2 separate regions of the Homo sapiens genome follow, and region 1 is linked to region 2. Evidence: promoter capture Hi-C in human tissues and cell types (Jung and others, 2019). All regions are on one chromosome and are shown on one strand. Each heading gives the region's core, a stretch centred on a gene start or on the middle of the fragment in contact. The rest is flanking DNA. Distances are from core to core; before and after follow the strand shown. Region 1 overlaps FAM204A (family with sequence similarity 204 member A). Region 2 holds the start of SLC18A2 (solute carrier family 18 member A2).

Region 1 (4,645 bases), core at 79-2,578, 1.1 Mb after region 2:
TCTGTTCTTTGCTCTAGAGTGAGACACTATCTCAATCTTCCAAGGATGTTATATACAAACATCCTTGCAAAGATAGTTTGGAACAAAAGGGTACTTAGTGCCTTGCTTCCAAGACGTGTAGAAATGCAAGAATTGTCCAGAGAATTGTCTCCCAACAAGTATATTGTTTGCTATATGTGAGAATCTATTCTCAGCACTTTCATATTCATTAGTTCCTTTAATCCTCACATCTCTATAAGATAGCTACTATTATTATCTCCATTTCTCAGGAGAACCCAAGGTACAGAGAGATTAAGTAGCCTGCCGGAGGTTACACAGCTTGTAAGTAGCAGAGCTGGGATTCAAATCTGGCTTGCTTCATAGTCCAGGGTGTAGCAGTTTCACTATTCTAACATTTGCTGGCATCAGCAACACACCTGCCTCCGTCCTTTTTCTCCAAAGTTTATCACCATATGAGAGTCCAGTGGTTCTCACACTTCAACGTCCCATCAGAAGATACAAGGTCTTGCTACCACAGTTGAATTCACGTCTGGCCTGGCGCCTGAGCACTTGCATCTCTATATTTCCTAGGTGATGTTGTGTGACACTGCAGAGTCTGCTTATTATGTCTTTCCCTCTAGGATATGAGCCCCATGAAGATCCAGCCGCTTTGTTCAGCGTGGCATCCTCAGTGCCTGCTGTAGTGCCAGACACATCACAAGCCTTCAATGCATTTATTGAAATAATGAGAAAAGGAAATGCAGGAAGAGGGATCCATTTCTTCCAGATTCTGTTATCTGACCTTAACCTTGGAAAATCCTCTAGTGCCATCCTGGCAGTTAAGGCCCTTGAGCAGCCGTCACTGCCACAGGCTACGGAGGTAAAGGAAGCAGCAAAACAAATCTTGAAAAAGGCAGCTTGCTCCTGATGGAGCTGCATGAGTTACAAGGTTTTTAACTGCAAGAATTGTTGGAGCCACTTCTGGTAATATATGAATTTCATAAAAATGTTTTCCAAGGTGCACAGAAACATCTGAGGACTTTAATTAAGCCCTCCACCATCGGGAATGGAACTTTTATGTACATGGACTTTGGATTTTCTTTTTCTCTTTTTGAGCACTGCTGGCAAGGAAGCAAGTACCAAGCGAGGATTCCAATTGAGTTCTTTGACACGGAACCTTTCTTTTCCTTTTTTGGAAAATGGAAGTAATGTACTAGTACAGGCAGTCTGTTTGGGAATATGAGCGTTTATATTAATGGCATTAAACTCAGTATTTATACCACAAGGCACCTCCTTCCCTATGGTTTGTGATAAGACATGTGCAAGTTGCACTGACTTGCTTTCCTCTTTCCCATCCCAGACTCCCCGTGTAAGAAGCGGGTGCTGCTCCAAGACAATGAGTCTTCTTTGTATGCACTAATTACAGAGGAGCTTTTGAAAATGTGGAATCCCAGGCCCTGCCCCCAGAGAGGGACCCTGGAGTTTACATTTTTAACAAGTGATTCTGCTTGCAGGAGGGCATGGATCCCACTTCAAGAACCACTGGAATGGGGTAGGGAAGAGGCAAAGGCCTGGCCTGCGTTCTAACGTCAGCCCTTTTATGCTAGATGAATGGCTGTAGAGTTCTCTTAAACTTCCCAGCACCTTGATTTCCTCATCTAAAAAACAAGTATAATGTGTCTTTGGCTTTCTTAGAGGAATAGTGCAAGAGCACTGTATGGGAAGAGTAATGAAAGAAGAATTTCAGATTTTCAATCTGCTAGACATTTATACATATGTAGAACCAAGATGTCCCTCCAAGGCAAGGAGCATAAATAACAATGAATCCTCAAAGTGTTTTTAAAAAATTTACAGAACAATAACAGTACTTCTAAGGCTTATATTCTCAGTCATGATTATTTATTAAATAGTTTAACTGGAAGGACCAGGTATGTATCCTCCACCCCTTCCATCCATCCCTCCTTTCATCCCATGTAAAATGCTGGCCTGCAGTGACTGACTGACTGAGACTGATACCGGGTTTAAAAGCCAGCTCCAGCCGGGCGCGGTGGCTCATGCCTGTAATCCCAGCACTTTGGGAGGCTGAGGTGGGCGGATCACAAGGTCAAGAGATTGAGACCACCTTGGCCAACATAGTGAAACCCTGTCTCTACTAAAAATACAAAAATTAGCTGGGCGTGGTGGTGCATGCCTGTAGTTCCACCTACTCGGGAGGCTGAGGCAGGAGAATTGCTTGAACCTGGGAAGCAGAGGTTGAAGTGAGCTGAGATGACACCACTGCACTCTAGCCTGGCGACAGAGCAAGACTCCGTCTCAAAAAGAAAAAAAGAAAAAAAACAGCTCCTTTGCCACAAGCAGAGTTCACAGAGCCCTCTTCCCCCAGCACAAGGCCAAGGCTTTACCCCTTTCAGGCATTCCCCTTCCTCATGGGCTTTGCTCCCTCCCTTACAAATGTTTCCTGAAGTGCATACTTTTACAAATCACCTCCACAAGAGATCTGAGGCACTGTTTCTAGGAAATCCAACCTAAGATTGCAATTGCACCATCTATTGCAATTCTGGTCTGGATGTCTGATTTGGCCAAGATCACCGGTGCCATCTGATGCTAACTCCAACAGCCACCTCTCCACCATTATCTTGCCTGACAGCTCAGCGGCATTTGTTCCTGTTGACATGCCACCTTTCAAGACCTCTTTCATCGACCTATTTCTGCAACCTCCCTCCCTTCTGACCTCCAGGTTGCTACATAGAAGTGTCCATTTGACATTTCCATGGCATTCCACAGGTACCATGACACAACAAGTATAAATATGACCTACTTTACTAAATACTAAATGTCTAACTCTATATTACTAAACTACTAATATAACATTACTCTTTAAAAGCCTGCTCTCTGACTACCTTCTTCATCCCACATCACCATCCATAGACACCCAACTCTTCCCCGCACAAGTCCAATCTCCCCAGCATCTCTCAAAGTTGTGTGTGAGTTGGTTCTGGCCAGCTCTTTTCAACGCCATCTCTTTCTGCTGCTCTACTTCCCTGTTCTCATTCTCTCCCCTGGCCCCTGCTAAAGTCCTTGCTGTACCTCAAATGTGCCACGCCGTTCCTTCTACCTAGGATGCACTCGCTTCTACTCGCCTACCTGGTAAAGTCCCAACAGCCCTTTATGGCATAATAAGCACTGCCTTTGCCTCACTGACTGAGCATGCAATGCTCTTTCAGCAGGTATCACACTGTGACACCACACCCACTACACGGTAATATGAACAGCTACTTTGACTCAGCTCTGTCAACACACCCAAGTAAAAATGACTCCATCAAATCACAAATAGTAGTTTGTGCTACTCAACATCAGCAAAATGTAAAGTTACTACATCGTATGTGATTGAGGCAATGTGGCAGATACTGCAAGCTATTTACTAAAATTTCTTTCCTCCCAGTCTATATTTTCCAGCTTCCCTTGTGGTTAGTGTGATGAAGTAAGGAAGTCTGAGCCAGTGCAAAGTGAGAACTAATGTGTTCCACTTCCAGGCCAGGCCCGTAACTTCCCGCCAGTGCTCTTCCATGCTCTTTTCCCTTCCAGCTGACTGGCATCGAGGGGACATCCAGGATTACTAGGGAAAGAAGGCGGTGAGTCGCTGTCAGCCTGGGTCTCTGAATGACAGCCCGGAACAGAGCCCTCGTTGATAGCAAGCAACATTCTCCTTTGTCTCATGAACAAGAAATAAGCTTGTATTGTGCTTGAGTCATTATATTTTGGGGGGCATATTTGTAGTAGTAGGAAGCATTACCCTAACATGGGAAGGTACTGTGGCCCACCCAAGCTAAAATAAAGGACACGTTAATGCAGTCTAAGAAAACTTTAAGCTTAAAATCACTGAGTAATGTGCAGAACAAACATTTGCATTCATTCCTGAGTCAAACCCCACCAATGCTCCTCATCTCCAGGGGAGACAGTCAGGGCATCAATCCCACCCACTCTGATGTGAGCAAGTATGGATCAGTCACTAAGCTGATAAGCCACTGTAGCTGACTGCCTAGCTAGGAAATTCAGCAACCTGTACAGTAAGTATATACTCAGGTAACTAAAATTTTTAAGTCTACATTACTTCTTATATGTAGATTATGTCTTTGTATTCAGCAAAGAAAAACTCACTGATTTTCTAATAGCCCGCCTGAAAATGGAGTTGTTCAAAACATGGTTTACATATATTTCCTATTAGATTTTGCTTATTCATCCTTGCATCTGCAAGAGTTAGTTTATCTGACATATAGTAGGCATTCAGGAAATGTTCCTTGGGCATTATGTAGGGAGAAATTCAAAGAAACGCAAAGCTTCATTGTTTCACTATTCCTTGTGACATTCATAATTACTTCTAGTATCACCCATCTTACAAATGAAAACACTTTTTATTGTGGGCAGTCATAATTGTATGCTATCCATCAAACAATAAAACCTTTATAGCTGAGACACATTCAGCCTGAAGATGAAGTGATATATTGACTTCTTGATCAAATGCCAGAACTTACAGATGAATATGAAACAGACATCAATAATTACAGCTTGCACTGTAGCTGTTGGTTCCTAAGGCTTTAAATTCAATGAACAAGTAAAAACTGGACAGACACACCCTTCAGAAATTAGAGGTGGAAAAGGATTACCT
Region 2 (4,717 bases), core at 1,350-3,849:
AAACTTTTTTTTATACTTTCAACTTTTGTTTTGGATTCAGGGGGTACATGTGCAGGGTTGTTACACTGGTATATTGAGTGATGTTGAGGTGTGGGGTATGACTGATCCTGTCCCCCTGGTAGTGAGCATAGTACCCAAGAGTTAGTTTTTCAACCTTTTCCCCCCTCCCTCCCTTTCCCCTTTAGTAGTCCCCACCAGGGTCTGTTGTTGCCATCTTTATGTCCACGTGTAGAAAATTTTAAAAAGCTAATGCATATTCACATATTTATTGTGGTTCACATAATAGATAGGTGATGAATACAGAATTTAAACAATAAAAGCATTAGGGTAGGATACAATTCTGTTGGAAAACGGAATGGAAACATACTTAAAAGGGGTAAAGAACACAATGTAAATATTTTGACTGTTAAAGGGATACTTGTTTATATTCTTAAGTATAACATGGCAGTTTTGTATTCTTATACAAATTCCTTTGGGTATATTTAAAAGAGAGAGATAATAATTTTATACATAAAGGTCAATAAATACAATATACCCTATTTAAATATATGATTAAAAAACTCATTTTAGATGCCAACTTGAAAATGTGTAAGGCAAACATATTGTTAAACATTTTTTAGGGGGTTTCAACAAAAAGTCTGTTATAGGCCATAGTGCTCTAGGGGTGGTGACAGTGATCCGGAGGCGGGAACGCCGGGCTGGCATTGTCCCTGGAGCCATCTACATCCAGCTGGCTGGGCTGGAGTTTGGTGTGGCTTCCAGTGTTCACTGCTATGATGCTGCTATCAGGTCAGAATGTCAGCAGGGATTTGTCTAGGCTTTACTGTCTCCCCAGCATTAACCATAGTGCCTGGCACGTAGTAAGAGCTCAACACATATTCAGCGCATGAATGAGGGGCCGGCACTTACGGAGCTCTCACTTTGTGCCAGGCACTGTGCTAAGAGCTGCCTATGCATTCCCCTGGAATTCTCACAACCACGCTGCAGTAGGTCCAGTGAGTATCCCCATTCCAGAGATGGCGAAACTAAGCCACAAAGAGGATACATAACCAGCCCAAGGCCACCAGTCAAGGAAGTAGCAGACTGGGACCTGGGCATCCTGGCAGGCACCCTTTACCATAATGCCTCTCTGTCCCCATGTGGTCCCTGGGGTAGAGTCTGCATCCTTGGGTTCTGAAACTCCAGAGCAAGCACTCTGGGGCACTCCCTGAGTGATACCCTCCTGCCATCTTAAACGGCTCTCTGCCATCTGCTTCCTCCTCCTAAGTGGTTTTCCTTCTGTCCTCCCTGTTTAATGTTTAAGTTGTGCACATCCTGTGACATCCTGGAGACCCATGTTCCTGACCTACTTACCTATTCAACCATCTCTTCTCACACATGGGGTAGCAATGAGAAGCACAGGGGGTCTCTGCAAGGGAGTAGGGAGGTGGAGAGAGCGGGGGCAGCCACACATCACACTGCTGTTCTCAGTGGCCTCCTGCTGTCAACAAGCTAACATTAATAAAACAAGCCCACTCTTCTGCTAAGAGACTGTGACAGGGTAACATTTATTCTAGGTAGCTTTTCAAGAAAACAGCTCTTGCTCCCACGGTCCCCTCGGAGGGCCTGCAGAGCTCCAGCGATGTCAGAGGGCATCTGTTTGTTTCTCCTTTGCTTATAAAAGGGACCTGGAAATCAAAGGCAGGCTCTTAGCCCTTAGCAGTGAGGATGACAGCTCTGCACCAGCCACACGCAGGCCCCTGGCTCTAGGAACCACCTCTCACCCAGACGCCCAGGCACAGCATGGTGGGGAGAGAGTACAGGACACAGGGCCTAGGCCTGCTGCCCCGCCCACAGCCCGCCCCCTAGCCCTTTCTCTGAGGCCAGGTGTACTCACCTAGCCTCCAGGGTCCCCTGCTCAGGTGGCCCCAGAGGCCCAAACCCACTGCTCCCACTTTCTGAGACCTGGGACCCTCACCTCCCCAACTCCCACCATAGGGCGACACTGAAAAGTGTCCCCTTCCCCCCCCCGTTTCCAAGTCACCAGCTTGAGGATGCCCAAGGCTCAAAGGCTCCTCCGAGTGGCACCCCGCATCGGGCTGCAGAGGTCGGAGAGGGGAGGGGATGGTGGGTGCAAAGGGTGGCTTCTTCAGGAAAGGGAAGCCTGTCCCTGGCTCCCAGCACCTGTCACCCCTGGCGATCTCACCCCGCGGCCATCATTCCCGTCCTCACGGCCCATTTCAGGGACACTGAGGCTCAAAGAGCCACGTGATTTATTCAAAGCAGCTCGAGCCACCACTTGGAGCCACAAGAAAGCCCTGGTCCGTGCCTCCTCGCCTTGGTCCCTGGCCCTTCACTCTTCGTCCAGGCTCTCTGACCTCTTTCCCTCTGCGCCCCTGCCTCTTCCCCAGGCCTGGGTCCCCAAGGCACTCGGCCACGCGCTGGGTCCGGGGAAGAGGCGCGGCCGCGGCCGAGGCGGGGACAGGGAGGCGGCAGCCCCTCCTGCGCAGCGACGGCGCGGGCGGGCGGAGGCCGGGGCGCCCCAGCCCCCCGCCCCCGCTCCCTCCGGCCGTGACGTCAGAGCCGGACGGGGTAAACTGAGCGGCGGCGGCGGGGCGCTGGGGCGGAGACTGCGACCCGGAGCCGCCCGGACTGACGGAGCCCACTGCGGTGCGGGCGTTGGCGCGGGCACGGAGGACCCGGGCAGGCATCGCAAGCGACCCCGAGGTAACACGGCCCCGGTTCCCTGCTCGCAGGGCGCGGTGCCGGAGGGGAGCGGGCCCGGGGGAGGCAGGGAGGCAGGGAGGCCCCCAGAGCTACGCGGGCGGGGCTGCGGGGACCCCGGGGCAGCCGGGGCGCAGGGCGCAGGGCGCAAGGTGCACGGGGCCGAGCGTGCAGTTTGGGAGGTGGCACAGTTGGGGGCGGCGGGGATCAGGGCAGCGTCCTGGGGGTTCTAGGTTGGGTCTCCAGATTGGGTCCCCGACGGCGCTCGCGGGCGCTCTTTCCAGGGAGCGCGGGCTCTCGTGGGGACGCGCTCGAGGCAGGTGAGCCGAGGCTGGGGCGCCCGGGGGTGTCCCCGGATGCCGGTGCGCGCGGCTCCCTGACCCGCCCTTCCGCGGCCTGGGGGACGGGAGAATGGGGGGTCCACGGCCGCCTTGGGTCCTCACCGCGCACCGCGCCCGCAGCGGAGCCCCGGAGCCATGGCCCTGAGCGAGCTGGCGCTGGTCCGCTGGCTGCAGGAGAGCCGCCGCTCGCGGAAGCTCATCCTGTTCATCGTGTTCCTGGCGCTGCTGCTGGACAACATGCTGCTCACTGTCGTGGGTACGTGCGGACAGGGCACCCCTGCCCCGGCACCCCAGCCCCAGCGCCCCTTCCCCGGCACTCCACTTACCCCTGCGCGGTCCCGGAGCTCCGCCAAGGCCCGGGAAAGTTGGAGAACTCGCTTTGCAAAAAAGACATCCCCTCCAGGCTGCCGCGCCGGGGCTAGGAGGAGCCGCGTTGTGTGGCTTCGCTTTCCTGATGCTCGGGTCAAAAACTGTGACATCCGATAAGACCCAGAACTTATGTTTCCCCCTGATAATTTCCCGCATCCTCTTGCCTGCTTTCACTGCGATGAAAAAGATTTCTGTTCCAAAAGAGAAATTCCTAAAGTTCAAAATTACGTGTTAGAATAATTATTGGGCTACTCGAAAAGGCAGGTTAGTAATTTGGTGTAGTACCTAAAAGAGCAAGTTTCGATCCCTTACTCCAAAAACAAGACATTTAGATATACTGTATTAGTGAATGACTTGAGATGGAAATATTTCAGGAACCATTGCAAGAACAATTTGAACAATCTTGGTTCTATTATTTTTCCTATAGTGGAATTTTGAAAAATTAAATAATCGAAATCCAGGTCCCTTAATTAGGCCCATTAACAGAGAAGTATTTGGCATGCATTTCCTTAAAAAAAAAAATCCCAGTTTTTAATGAATGAAAAAAAAATCACGACTCATTTAGACTGTAAGTGGTGGGAGCTGTTTCCTTTCTCTCCATTTGCAGGTTTTCTCACAGCAGTTTTCAGAGCATCTGATAGGTTTCATCTCGAGGAGTTATCAGAGCCGTGGAGCTCATCCCTGTTCAGTACCAACGGCATTAGTTCTGCTTCGGCTCGAATGCTCCATTGGACACATGTGCTCACAGCTTCGATTATATGTTTCACAATTTAATTTGTATTTTTTGTTGTTGCTTTTTATTTTGGTTTTTGTTTGTTTTTTTGAAATGGAGTCTCACTCTGTTGCCCAGGCTGGAGGGCAGTGGCACAGTCTTGGCTCACTGCAACCTCCACCTCCCGGGTTCAAGTGATTCTCCTGCATTAGCCTCCCGAGTAGCTGGGTTACCGGCATGCCCCACCAAAGCTGGCTAATTTTTGTATTTTTATTAGAGACAGGATTTTGCCATGTTGGCCAGGCTGGTCTTGAACTCCTGACCTCAGGTGATCTACCCGCCTCGACCTCCCAAAATGCTGGGATTACAGGCCTGAGCCACCGTGCCTGGCCTGTTTCAGTTTTGCTTTTTCCTTGTGAAAGCCTTAGGAATTCTTAAATCTTACAAGTTGTAGGAAAAATTACAGATTCCCACTCATAATAGAAGGATGAAGTGGGCCTGTTGCAGAATTTCCAAGTTATTACTTCCTGCAGGTTAATTTTTTTCTAAGACACATAATGAAGTGTAGTTTTCTGTTTCCTTGATTCATTCA

What was found. Contacts are between HindIII fragments. The study calls those that stand out against the background at their distance.
Region 1: a fragment that was not itself captured here is called in contact with the fragment with the promoter of SLC18A2 in region 2 in 1 of the 25 tissues and cell types used here (bladder).

What each region holds. Positions count from the first base shown.
Region 1 is chr10:118,301,517-118,306,161 of GRCh38, forward strand. It overlaps FAM204A (family with sequence similarity 204 member A), which reads right to left. Exons shown (of 9, transcript NM_022063.3): 9 at 1-4,645. Among named protein-coding and RNA genes, the nearest start is that of FAM204A, 38 kb to the right of the region's middle. The HindIII fragment of the contact is 4,902 bases long and covers 1-3,779 here.
Region 2 is chr10:117,238,515-117,243,231 of GRCh38, forward strand. It overlaps SLC18A2 (solute carrier family 18 member A2), which reads left to right and starts at 2,600. Exons shown (of 16, transcript NM_003054.6): 1 at 2,600-2,706; 2 at 3,165-3,300. The coding sequence starts at 3,180. It overlaps SLC18A2-AS1 (SLC18A2 antisense RNA 1), which reads right to left and starts at 3,483. Exons shown (of 3, transcript NR_184310.1): 1 at 3,371-3,483; 2 at 3,147-3,269; 3 at 251-1,667. The HindIII fragment of the contact is 16,283 bases long and covers 1-4,717 here.